Linked DNA regions of Homo sapiens: region 1 is linked to region 2. The links are contacts of gene promoters, found by promoter capture Hi-C in human tissues and cell types (Jung and others, 2019). All regions are on one chromosome and are shown on one strand. The core of a region is centred on a gene start or on the middle of the fragment in contact, and the rest is flanking DNA. Distances in the headings are between cores, read along the strand shown.

What was found. The method cuts DNA at HindIII sites, captures the fragments that hold promoters and counts their contacts. A contact is called where the count stands out against the background at its distance.
Region 1: a fragment that was not itself captured here is called in contact with the fragment with the promoter of SUCNR1 in region 2 in 1 of the 25 tissues and cell types used here (aorta).

Annotation. Positions count from the first base shown.
Region 1 is chr3:152,721,673-152,727,441 of GRCh38, reverse strand. No RefSeq gene overlaps it. Among named protein-coding and RNA genes, the nearest start is that of P2RY1, 110 kb to the left of the region's middle. The HindIII fragment of the contact is 3,152 bases long and covers 1,395-4,546 here.
Region 2 is chr3:151,869,853-151,875,746 of GRCh38, reverse strand. SUCNR1 (succinate receptor 1) reads right to left here and starts at 2,104. Exons shown (of 3, transcript NM_033050.6): 1 at 2,041-2,104. The region is part of intron 1 of AADACL2-AS1 (AADACL2 antisense RNA 1); the gene reads left to right. The HindIII fragment of the contact is 10,580 bases long and covers 1-4,423 here.

The DNA.
Region 1 (5,769 bases), core at 1,721-4,220, 850 kb before region 2:
TTTCATAAACTTTTCTCTACCCAATGCTATAGGCTGAATGTTTATGCCCCCTTGTCTCCAAATTCATATGTTAAAACTTAGTTCTAAATGTGATGGTTTGGATGTTTGTTTCTTACAAATCTCATTTTGAAATGTGATTCCCCAGTGTTGAAGATGGGGCCTTGTCGGAGGTGTTTGTGTCATGGGAGTGGAGCCCTCATGAATGGCTTGGTGCCCTCCCTGTAGTAATGAGTGAGTTCTCACTCTATTCATGCAAGAGCTGGTTGTTTAAAGAGCCTGGAACCTCTCTTGCTCCCTCTCTTACATGTGACACACTTGCTCCTCCTTCACCTTCTGCCATGATTGTTGGCTTCCTAAGGCCTTCACCAGAAGCAGATGCTAGCACCATGTTTCTTGTACATCTGTAAAACCATAAACCAAAATAAATCCCTTTTCTTTATAATTTACCCAGAATCAGGTCTTCCTTTCTAGCAATGCAAAACAGACTAACACAGATGGTATTAGGAGATAAGGTCGTGGGAGATGATTAGGTCATGAGGGAAGAGCTAAGAGCTCTCATGAATGGGATTAATGACCTTATCCAAGAGGCCTTAGAGAGCTCCTTTGCCTTTTTTTGCCATGAAAGAACACAGTGAGAAGGCACAATGAGAAGGAACCAAAAAGTGGGCCCTCAAAAGACAGTAAATCAGCCAGTGCCTTAATCTTGGATTTCCCAGCATCTAAGCCTGTGAGAAATAAATACAGCATCTGTTGTTTATAAGTCCCTCAGCCTACAGTAGTTTGTTATAGCAGCCCAAACAAAGACACCCAAAGTGATGAAGATATTCTTTTATGTTGCTTTCTAAAATATTGTTTTGCCTTTTGCCAACAGCTTTCCCTTTCACAATTCAGAATTATTTTTTGTATTTGTACTTTTATAGTTGCTGTGAGATAGAAGTCAACATCTTAGGCAGAGAGAATAGCTAACACTAAGACAGCTGTCAAGATCCTGAGTCTAAGGAGGAAGAGGAAGAAGAGGAGGCTGGAGCCAGTGAATGAGGCAAGAGGGAGAGGAAATGAGGTGTAGAGGCAGCCATTGCCACCCACTGAAGAACCTCTTTGACTTTGGTAACCTTTTTAAATTTTGTTCTAAATGTATGGGAAGCTATTTGAGAATTGGGAACAGGTGTGTGATGTGGTAAGCTTTAGCTCACTAAGAATCACTGACTACTGTGAGAATAATTAACAGAGATGCACAAGTAAATGCAGGTGAACCAGTTAGGAGGCTTCTGCACTTTGCCAGGTGAGAGATAATGGAGGCTTGGACTGGGATTCCAACAGTGGAGGTGGTGAACCATGAACAGACTTGAGGTTTGTTCTGAAAGTAAAGTTAACAAGATTTTCTGATAGATCAGATATAGGCTTAAGAGAGAAAAAGGTATCAAATACGATTCCAAGATGATGATATTTACCAAAATAAGAAAAACATCAGTTAACATTTTGTTGGCTCAACAAAACTCTGATCCAGTTGTGAATGTTGCCAGAAGTAGTCTATATCACCAATTTTGGACTTAATGATAAAAAAATTACCTTGTATTTGATAATGCCTTCCTAGTTAATGTATAAGCTTATCAGTTCCCATATATTAAAGTTATTATAAAAAATAACTTTTAGATATTTGCCAAGCATTCTCATAGGCACTATTCATTCAATCAACCCCTTGAAAGGTTGGCTGAGCCATTAGCCCCCCTTATTTTCAGCCGAGGAAGAGTAAATACAATATTTAATAGGTAGCGAAGTTGAATCTTCAACTGTCTATGACTCTAGAATTCCTTTCTTCTTTTATATATCTTGTGTAACCTTAGTAACTGCAATATCAATGGCTAAGCACAAAACCACTAAGAAGATGTTTGCTAATTGGTTGATTGAACGGTACACACCTGTTATATCTGGGCAAAAAAGATTCTTAGTCAACTATCTACTGATTACACCAGGAAGGCAAAACCTAATTCTATTTCTTCTACTTGATGGTGTTATCTATTTTTAATTAAGTTTATCTAGAAATATTTAACTTATAAGCCTAAACATATTTTCTAATTAAAGTATATGAACATACCCTGGAGTTATATCCCAGCTAATTTTTCCTAATCTGTTTGTTTGAAGTCTCCTTAGTGAGGAAGTGTGAATTGAAGCATGAATGATAAAGAACGAAATGTTGTTTCTACCTGAACTTAAAAATTCAACAGAAAGAACTCATCAACAGCAATTAGTGTCAAAACCCAGATGGTCAGAAGAGACAGACCATCACCTGATTTTATTAATTTATTAAGGAAACGTTTAACGTTGAGATGGGTCTTCAGAAATGTACCCCAAATATGTTATTTTTCCAATAGGCTAATTTAATTAATTCCAACTGGGTTAATTTGAACACATTATCATTGTTTATCTAAAGAGAAAGAACAGGTACAATAAGTTCTAATATAGTGGAGTGAACACAAGACTGAACCCTTTAAATAATTAACGTGAATTCAAGTAACAATAGTTTAAAATCTGAACATGTTAAATTGTCCCCTTAGAGTAAAAATAAAAATAAACTTGTAATACCTGGCATTTGTATAGTGCTTTATAAATTCCATAAAGTGCTTGTACATATTCTGATTGGATATTTACTATCACCCTTAATTATATCCATAGTTTACATTCAATTGAATGATTGTGCCAGGCATCATGCTCAATGTTTTACATACATTATCTTATTTCACTTTTTTCTAATAACTTACAAGTTAGGTTAGTTAAGTAAGGTTTTTGTTGACCAGACAAATATATACTGTCTAACTTAAACAATATTAAAAATATGCTAATTTTAAAGGCTGGAACTCAGACAAATTGAAGCACTTTCTTTGAAAGCATCTGGTTCCAATGCTTTTTCAGGTTTTATCACATTCTGTCCAAGGTTCACATTTTTATGACAGTCTGTCTGGCCAGACTTGGAGTTTGTACCCATTCTCTTGTCCAGATGTTTCAATCTGATTAAGACTAATTTCTGAGCGTGGAAGGTGGAAATAAAAGAAGATTGCTTTACCTGTAACAACTTTGGCATTGACATAGAAACTAAAGCATACCATATAACATTTAAAGGGAAAAAACACATGAAAAGTTAATGCTACCTCCCAGATTTCCAGAGTCAGTAGAGAGAAAAGAGGAGAAATCTCAGGCTATACGCACAAGGCAAAGAAGAGGTCGGGTGGCTCCTGCAGCCTTTAAGTCCCTAAGAAGCTAGGTCAATCTCGATAGTCACCAAGAAACAGACCTTCTGACAGAGAGTCCAGCAGATTTAATAGTAGTGGGACATCTGGGGGCTTCACTCTGGTAGGAGTGAAGCCAGATTTAGGCTTGTAAATAAGCTTGAGTTGGGGGTTGATGTGCAAGTCCAATGTCTGCTCTGGAGAGATGCTCATAGGGCCCTCTCTTCTTTGGTTAACATTCTATGAAGGAAATACAACTGCCAAGAAAGAATCAACAAATACGCGAGAAAGCTTTTGAGAGAAGGAAAGTAGTTGGGAAGGGTGCATGTTTTGGCGTGGGGATATGGTGAGCCTGCTGTCAAGGGAAGAAGGCCGCTGGTAGCAGCAGAAAAAGGCATAGTAAAATAAAGTTCTGTTGCTTCCCTTGCCCACTGTGTTCAATTATTGGGAAAATCATCAATAGTTCTCTTGTTTCAGAACTCTATGGCAACTACCACTGGGGCTGGTGTTCTCAGAGGAACTATCAGAGCAGCACTGAAGCTTGGTTGGGCATAGGAGTTGATGAAAACACATGATACAGATTGGGGATACCTAATCCAAAAATCTGAAATTCAAAATGCTCCAAAATCTAAAACTTTTTTAGCATTAACATGACACCACAGGGGTGGATGAAATAGTGTGATTTCTGCTTTCTGATGGCTTAATCTATATGAACTTTGTTTCATGCACAAAATTATTTAAAAGATTGTATAAAACTACATTCAGGCTATGTATGTAAGGTGTATATGAAACATAAGTAAATTTTGTATTTAGACTTGAGTCCCATCTCTAAGATATCTCATTACATATATGCAAATATTCCAAAATCTGAGAAATCTGAATTCTGAAATCTGAAACACTTCTGGTCCCAAGCTTTTCAGACAAGAAATAGTCAACCTGTATCTACTATACATGGCATTTTGCCTTTTTATCCAGACCCCTCCAAACCCTAAGGGTTTGTGGACTACTTCCTAGGGTGACTGCCTCCTACCAATTCTGCATTTTCTTGAATATTTAGAGATAAGTAGCAGTTGCTCAGATGATAGCTAATAAGAGTGATTGCTGCCAGGCACGGTGGCTCACACCTGTAATCTCAGAACTTTGGGAAGCTGAGCCGGGTGGAATGCCTGAGTCTAGGAGTTTGAGACCAGCCTGGGCAACATGGCAAAACCCCGTTGTCTACTAAAAACACAAAAAATTAGTTGGATGTGGTGGTGTGCACCTGTAATCCCAGCTATTCGGGAGGTTGAGATGTGAGAATCACCTGAGCCCGGGAAGTCTAGGCTACAGTAAGCTGAGATTGCACCACTGCACTCCAGCCTGGGCAACTGAAGTGAGACCCTGTCTCAAAAAAAACAATGATTAATGAATTATGGTTTTCTGTCGGCTGAACCTTTCCTCCCTAAGAAATATCTCTTCTATTCTCTCTCAACTCATTAACTGACTAGACTGGGGTCTGGCCTTCAGATTTCCCTAATATTCACTCCAGACAGAATAGCTGATATCAAACCTCACAGGCTTGGTATCAAAATAGCTGGAAACCCAATAACTACAGCTACTTTGAGTAAAAATTAAAAACTGAAAAACATATACCATCTAAGGCAAATGCTATTATTATTAGCTAACCACACACTATTTACCCATAACTTCACATGTAAATTCAAACCACTGCATTAAAAAGCCCAAGTTAAAGCTTACACCAATGTGAAAGCTCTTACTAAAAAATGTGAATGCTGGTCAGGCAGAAAGAATGGAGTTGTGAAGAATGAAATTATGAAAATAAAGTGCCTACATGCCTGGCATAAAGTAGGCAGTTATTAGTTAGAATTTCTGTCTTACTTTTAGCAATCATACACTTTGTAAATAAAAAGCCAGGTTTGTGTCTTTTTAAAAAATTGGTACAGCTTCAGGCACTGTATAAGTTTTCTGAGGCTGCTGTAACAAATACCACAAACATAGTGGCTTGAAACAACAGAAATTTATTCTCTCACAGTTCTGGAGGCCAGCATCTGAAATCAGTATCATTGGTCTGAAATCAAAATGTGGCATGGCAGGTCTGTGCTCCTTCAGGAAGCTCCAGGGGAAAGAATCTGTGTCTTGCCTCTTCCAATTTCTGGTGACTGCTGACATTTCTTGGCTTGTGGCTGCATCACTCCTGTCTTCATGGAATCTCCCTTTGCTTTGTCTTCACACTCTCGTGTTTGTTTCAAATATCCCTCTGTTTGTCTCTTGTAAGGACACTTGTGATGACATTGGGTCCAGATAATCCAGAGTAATCTCCCATCTCAGGATTCTTAACTTGATAACCATGGACAAAGACCTTTTTTTTGCCATATAAGGTAAAATTCACAGGTACTAGGAATTAAGATGTGGGATGCACTTTTTAGCCTACACCACAAACACCTATGCTAACACATAGTAAGTTGTTAACAACTATTTGTAGAATAAAATCTCTTTCCAAAGCCTCTTTCCGCTGAGTCTTCTAGCTCTTATGATCTGTATTATT
Region 2 (5,894 bases), core at 855-3,354:
TTGTTTCTTCATTTTTTTGAAACAACTTTTTAAAAATGTATGTGTAAAATTATTGTTAAGGTGTAACACTCATAAAATCAAATAGGCAAAAATAAGAAATAAAAATGGTCTGTAAACAGACCACTCCTAATATTTGGGTACCCTTTTACATTTTAATATTTACCTGAATTTTTATTCATAAAAATGAGATTTTTTTATGATGTTTTATAATTTTTTGATACATTTGTTTCATTTTTTCTAAGTTCATAATTCTAATAGATTATGATTTTATAAATATGAGCTGTGCAATATTTGCAGACCAATTTAACTTCACTAGGATACAAAATTTTGAAGATACTATATTTCAAATTGGATATGTTTATAGTTGGGTATGTTTTTAGTGTGGCATCGCAATTCTATAAACATATGAAGTAAGTTGCTCCTTTAAGCAAAACTCCCAATTAAAGAGAAAATTCCCTCATGAAAAATTCATATTCTCTCTTCTGCTATCTAGTGGCTATATTCTTAATTTTTAGGAAATGGAAATAGTGATAAATAAATTGTAACTGATTTGGATGAATTATTTTGAATAGGTATTTTTTAAGAGCAGAAATTAAAGTGAAATCTTTAGTTTCCAGTCCAAAAATATATCTAAAACTGTTAGAATTATTGAACTAGAAGCAATATCTAATTTACTCACATAAGCAGACCAATAATACTTAACTTGAAAATGTTTTTTACTTTAAATATATTCAGCCTTTTGAAAATCTGCATTTTTGAAATTTACTTTAAAATATATATGTGATAGTTTCTTAGCTTTTTAATTGTTTGTTTTTATAGTCATCACAATTAAACAAATAACATTTGTAAAATGTTTACTTTTAAGTGCTACCTTAAGGCAAATTTACATGGTAACATGAGAATTTTTTTTAACAAATTACTTTTTTGATTACTAAATAATTTGAGCAAAAATATATATTCACACTGAAAAGATATAATAATTTAACATTTGTAACTTTATTTTTATGTATTCCATACATTACACCAGAAATTAAGGTATTAAAAAGTAATAGTATGGCACAAATTGTGTATTAACTTCTTTAAGAATACCACACACATTTTGAAAAGTTATGGAAGGTAGAATAGAAATGGTTTCTGCAATTTTTCATTTTTCCTAAGTAAATTAATTATTGGGTAATATCATTTTTACACACATAAATGTTAAATTTAATTTTTAGGATGCCTGAAAATTCCCCCAAATACATTATTTTCTAAACATAAAAATATTATGCCCCAGCACAGTGGCTCATGCCTGGAATCCCAACACTTGGAGAGGCCGAGATGAGTGGATCACCTGAGGTCAGGAGTTTGAGACCAACCTGACCAACATGGTGAAACTCCATCTCTACTAAAAAATCCAAAAAAAATAGCCGGGCGTGGTGGTGGGCGCTTGTAATCCTAGCTACTCTGCAGGCTGAGGCAGGAGAATTGCTTGAACCCCAGAGGCGGAGGTTGCAGTGAGCCAACACATGCTGTAAATGTGTCACTCTGGCACTCAGACACTCTAGCCTGGGTGACAAGAGTGAAACTCTGTCTTAAAAAAAAAAAAAAAAAAAAAAAATATATATATATATATATATATGTATGTATATGTGTGTGTGTGTGTGTGTGTGTGTGTGTGTGTATGTATCAAATACATGATTGTTTCAAATCATTTAGGAACTTTAATTTTTCCCCATAAGTAGTTATATTTATTTAGGTAAATCCAATTACTATTTTGTTGAAATATAAGTTGTTGAGATGTTAGCAAATATAATAAATCCTTTTACATAAAATAAAATTAGTATTTGACAACTAAAAGAAGACAGTTAATTTGTTGAAAAATAAACGTAGAGATAAAAATGACTTTTTTTTTTCAATTATTTTGCTGTTTTACATCTATTTATAAAGAATTAATTTAAACACTTAATACTGAAAACCTTAATTGCTCACAGGTCACCTTTAGAAGGAAATCTGGCCTTACTTTATACACTGAGAGGCACAATTTGCCATGTAGCTTACCATTCTGTTGGAAGACTTGATCCCTTGACAGGAACTCTGCCAGCAGCTGGATATAGCTTCTGACCCAGTGTTGTGCCACTGGACATGGTTATTACAGTGTCCTATTTGCATATCCTATTTGCATATCCTGCAGCCAAGATTAATAATTCAAAAGCCCAGGAATAATTTATTCAGTCAAACCTCCCAGTCAGAGATGTTCATGCAGAGGAATTTTTGTGAGGCTTTTATTTTCACATTCACATTTATTTTATTTTCACATGCAGTTTTGCAATTGAATGACAAAAAACAAGTAACTCATTTCACAGGAAACACATTTACCAAATAGATTTTTAGAAAAACACTGTTGAACTTATTTTATCCACTACCAAAGCAACAGAGAAGCATTCCTTATTTTCATTTTATTTGCATATTTACACAATAAGAAGTGGTAAATACTGCTTATATTGGGAATACAGTTGCCTCTGCTTTTCTTCTTTTTTAAAATTAATTTTCTTAGTGAATTCTGTATTGAGAATATAATAACGAAACCTCTGTTTTCAATAACTTTGAGGGAACTATAAAACTGAAATTTTAAAGGGAAACCTGGATATATGCTATGTTGGTGTACTAGCAAAAAGATACTAGAGCTTCAAGTTATTTTCCATTTTATTTTCTGTGCTTAAAATCAAGAAACACATAAAAGATACATCAGATAGCTAGGGATTAGGGAGAGAGATGCTAAGTAAAATAACCTTAATAGATGGCAATTTATATATCCCAATCAATGCTCTGAAAAACATCTGGAAGTACATTACCACCATTTCAGACAGGAAGCACACCTGGCTTTTTCCAAGCATTATATTAGGTTTAGATTCAAGTAAACACTCAGTCTTCTTGATGTGAAGCATAGGGATTATACTAAGAAAGCCCATAATTGTGCAGGCAGCAGTAATTCAATTTAAATGCTATGTAAGTTGAATATTGAGTTAGCAATGACAGGCAGAAGCCCAAAAAGAAGCTCTGTTACAGGCATCCTCCTAACTAAGCATTTCTCCTCACCAATATCTGACAGCTTAAAAACTCAGGAACTCAAAATATATGTATGTATATATACACATACATATATACATACATATGTGTCTATATTACACACTTTATATACATGTGTAAAATATATTTATACATGTATGAATATTTATGTATACAAACATGTGCATTTACATGAAATAAAAATATCTATAATTTGTTGAGTTCTTGTGATGTGGCAGGCAGGTATTACACTAAGTACCTTTATGCATCAAATGCATATAGTAATCCTCTGAGGTTGTTATTATTTAAGATTTTTCTCATTTTGCAGATTAAAAAGCTAAGGTTCAGAGAGGTCAATTAACTTTCTCAAGATTGCAGAATCAATAACGGGAGGGACCAGAGCTTAAGCCTATGTACTTGGATTCTAAAAGCACCGACTCTGATTCTTGACTGCCTACAGAATTGAATGACAATACCCTTGTGCACAACAAAGTCTAAGAATTAATAACAGGTATTTTTCAGTAATGCAATTCTTTTCTACTTTTAGAAGGAAGAAAGGTTAAAACATTATTTTTGTCTATATTTTTAAAAGGGCAAAAAGCATTTGAATAACCAATGCCAGGCTTGTTAATTTTAGACATAAATTAACATGAACCCCTTCCAAGAAACAAAGACAAATGGATGTATTTCACAGGTTTCTGCCACCATTCTGATGGAAGAAAAGAGTAATTCCCCCTTTGTGGGGTGGTGGGAGTTCCCGAGAGCTTCCTCTTTCTTCGTCCCACTTCCTGACTACCATCTCACTCTGGCTGCTAAGACAAAAATTGGTCTATGCTTCTCCTTTTTCATAGAACACGTCATCTAGACTGTAGCCTGGTAGCCTTGTTTCCCTCCCAAGTCCTACTTCCTGTTTCCTCCGAATGCTCTCAGTTGAGATACTAGAGTGTTACTGGGAAAGACTTACTAAAAGGTCACGAGTATTTCTGCTACAAAGCTTTATGCAGGTCTGCAAAATGATAGCTGCACGGGAACAAGGCTGGATTCAGAATTATGACCCTGTGAGCAGGGTGGGTTTCATGGTATGCTACTGTGTAGTCTCACAGTGCTTCACACTCAAAAAAGATCACACAGTTGAGTTAATGCTCTACTGTCACATTCTTAATTAAAATGTTTCATAACTTCTTAACAAGGGACCCCATATATTTCTTTTGCACTGGGCTCTACTAAATATGTAGCCAGTTCTGCCTGTGAGAGTAGAAACCTCCTCAGAAACTATTTCTATTCAGTATAGCACATCAAATTTTGAGGGGGCAAAGTTTTTTTGTTTTGTCTTTTTTTTTTTTTTACATATAACATGTTGAGATGCACTGCTTGAGAATCAATGGAAGTTTGAAAGGCAGTGAAAGTTTGCAGTACTGGCCGGGCATGGTGACTCACACCTGTAATTTCAGTACTTTGGGAGACCAAGGCAGGCGGATCACTTGAGTCCAAGAATTGGAGACCAGCCTGGGCAAAGTGGCAAAACTCTGTCTCTACAAAAAATGCAAAAATTAGCTGGGGCATGGTGGTGCGTGCCTTTAGTTTCAGCTACTCGGGAGGCTTGAGGATGGCCTGAACCTGGGGAGGCCGAGGCTGCAGTGAGCCATGATTGTGCCACTGCCCTCCAACCTGGGAGACAGAGTGAGACCCTGTCTCAAAAAAAAAAAAAGTTAAGTACAACAATGAACACTTTTTAAAATATATATTTTTTAAAAGCTTGTAGTACTGTTTGCTAAGAGGTAGTATAACACAGTGTTTAAGAGCATAGGTCCTGGAGGCAAACTGCTTTGTTTCAAATATTGGCTTCACTACTCACTAGCTTTCAGTTTTTGTATTTGTAAAACAGGGATAATGAGAGTTACCAATCTTATGAATTGTTATGTATATAGCAGAAGTACATATGCTACATAGTATGAGGTACTAGTATATACGTACACTGTATAATATGAGGTACATATTAGTTGCTAAATAATTGTTGGCTATTACAGAAATTTATAATGAATGAGAGAAGACTTTCTCTAAAATAATAATGGTAATTCAGTGCCATTGATGTTAGAATACTTGCTGCCCAGAAATATCCATTTAAAAGGTCCTTATAAAAGCCAACATGATAAAAAGATTAGTGAGTTCTAATCCTGGCTTTGCCTTTTACTAGTTTGTGTGATCTTTGAAAAAAAATCACATAACCTGATTTCCTTGTTTGGAAAAGGGGAATAATAATTCCTACCCATCAAACTCATAATGTTCATAGTATCAAATTATATAATGTTTGAAAATGCAATGGGCTTGAAATTGAAGAGCAGTTCATGTAAACCAGGCAAACTAATCAGGAAATTCAAGAGGAAAAAGAAAATGGTGGGAAATATAATATAAATATTAATTAAATCCAATGCTAGTAATAACTTCTGCTGGGTCCGGTGGCTCACACCTATAATCCCAGCACTTTGGGAGGCCAAAGCAGGAGGGTCACTTGAGCTCAGGAATTCAAAACCAACCTGGGCAACATAGCAAGACCTCCTCTACTAAAAATCGAAAAAATTGGCTGGGAGTGGTGGAACACACCTGTAGTCCCAGCTACTCAGGTGGCTGAGGTGGGAGGATCACTTGAGCCCAGGATGTCAAGACTGTAATGAATTATGATGGCATCACTTTACTCCAGCCTGGGTGGCAGAGTGGGATCCTGTCTAAAAAAAATTAATAATAACTTCTACTAACATTTTTTCAGCATTCACTCTATAATAACACAGTGTATGCAGTGATTCTTTTAATATTCACAATAATTTAATGCAGTGGATATTATTAATATC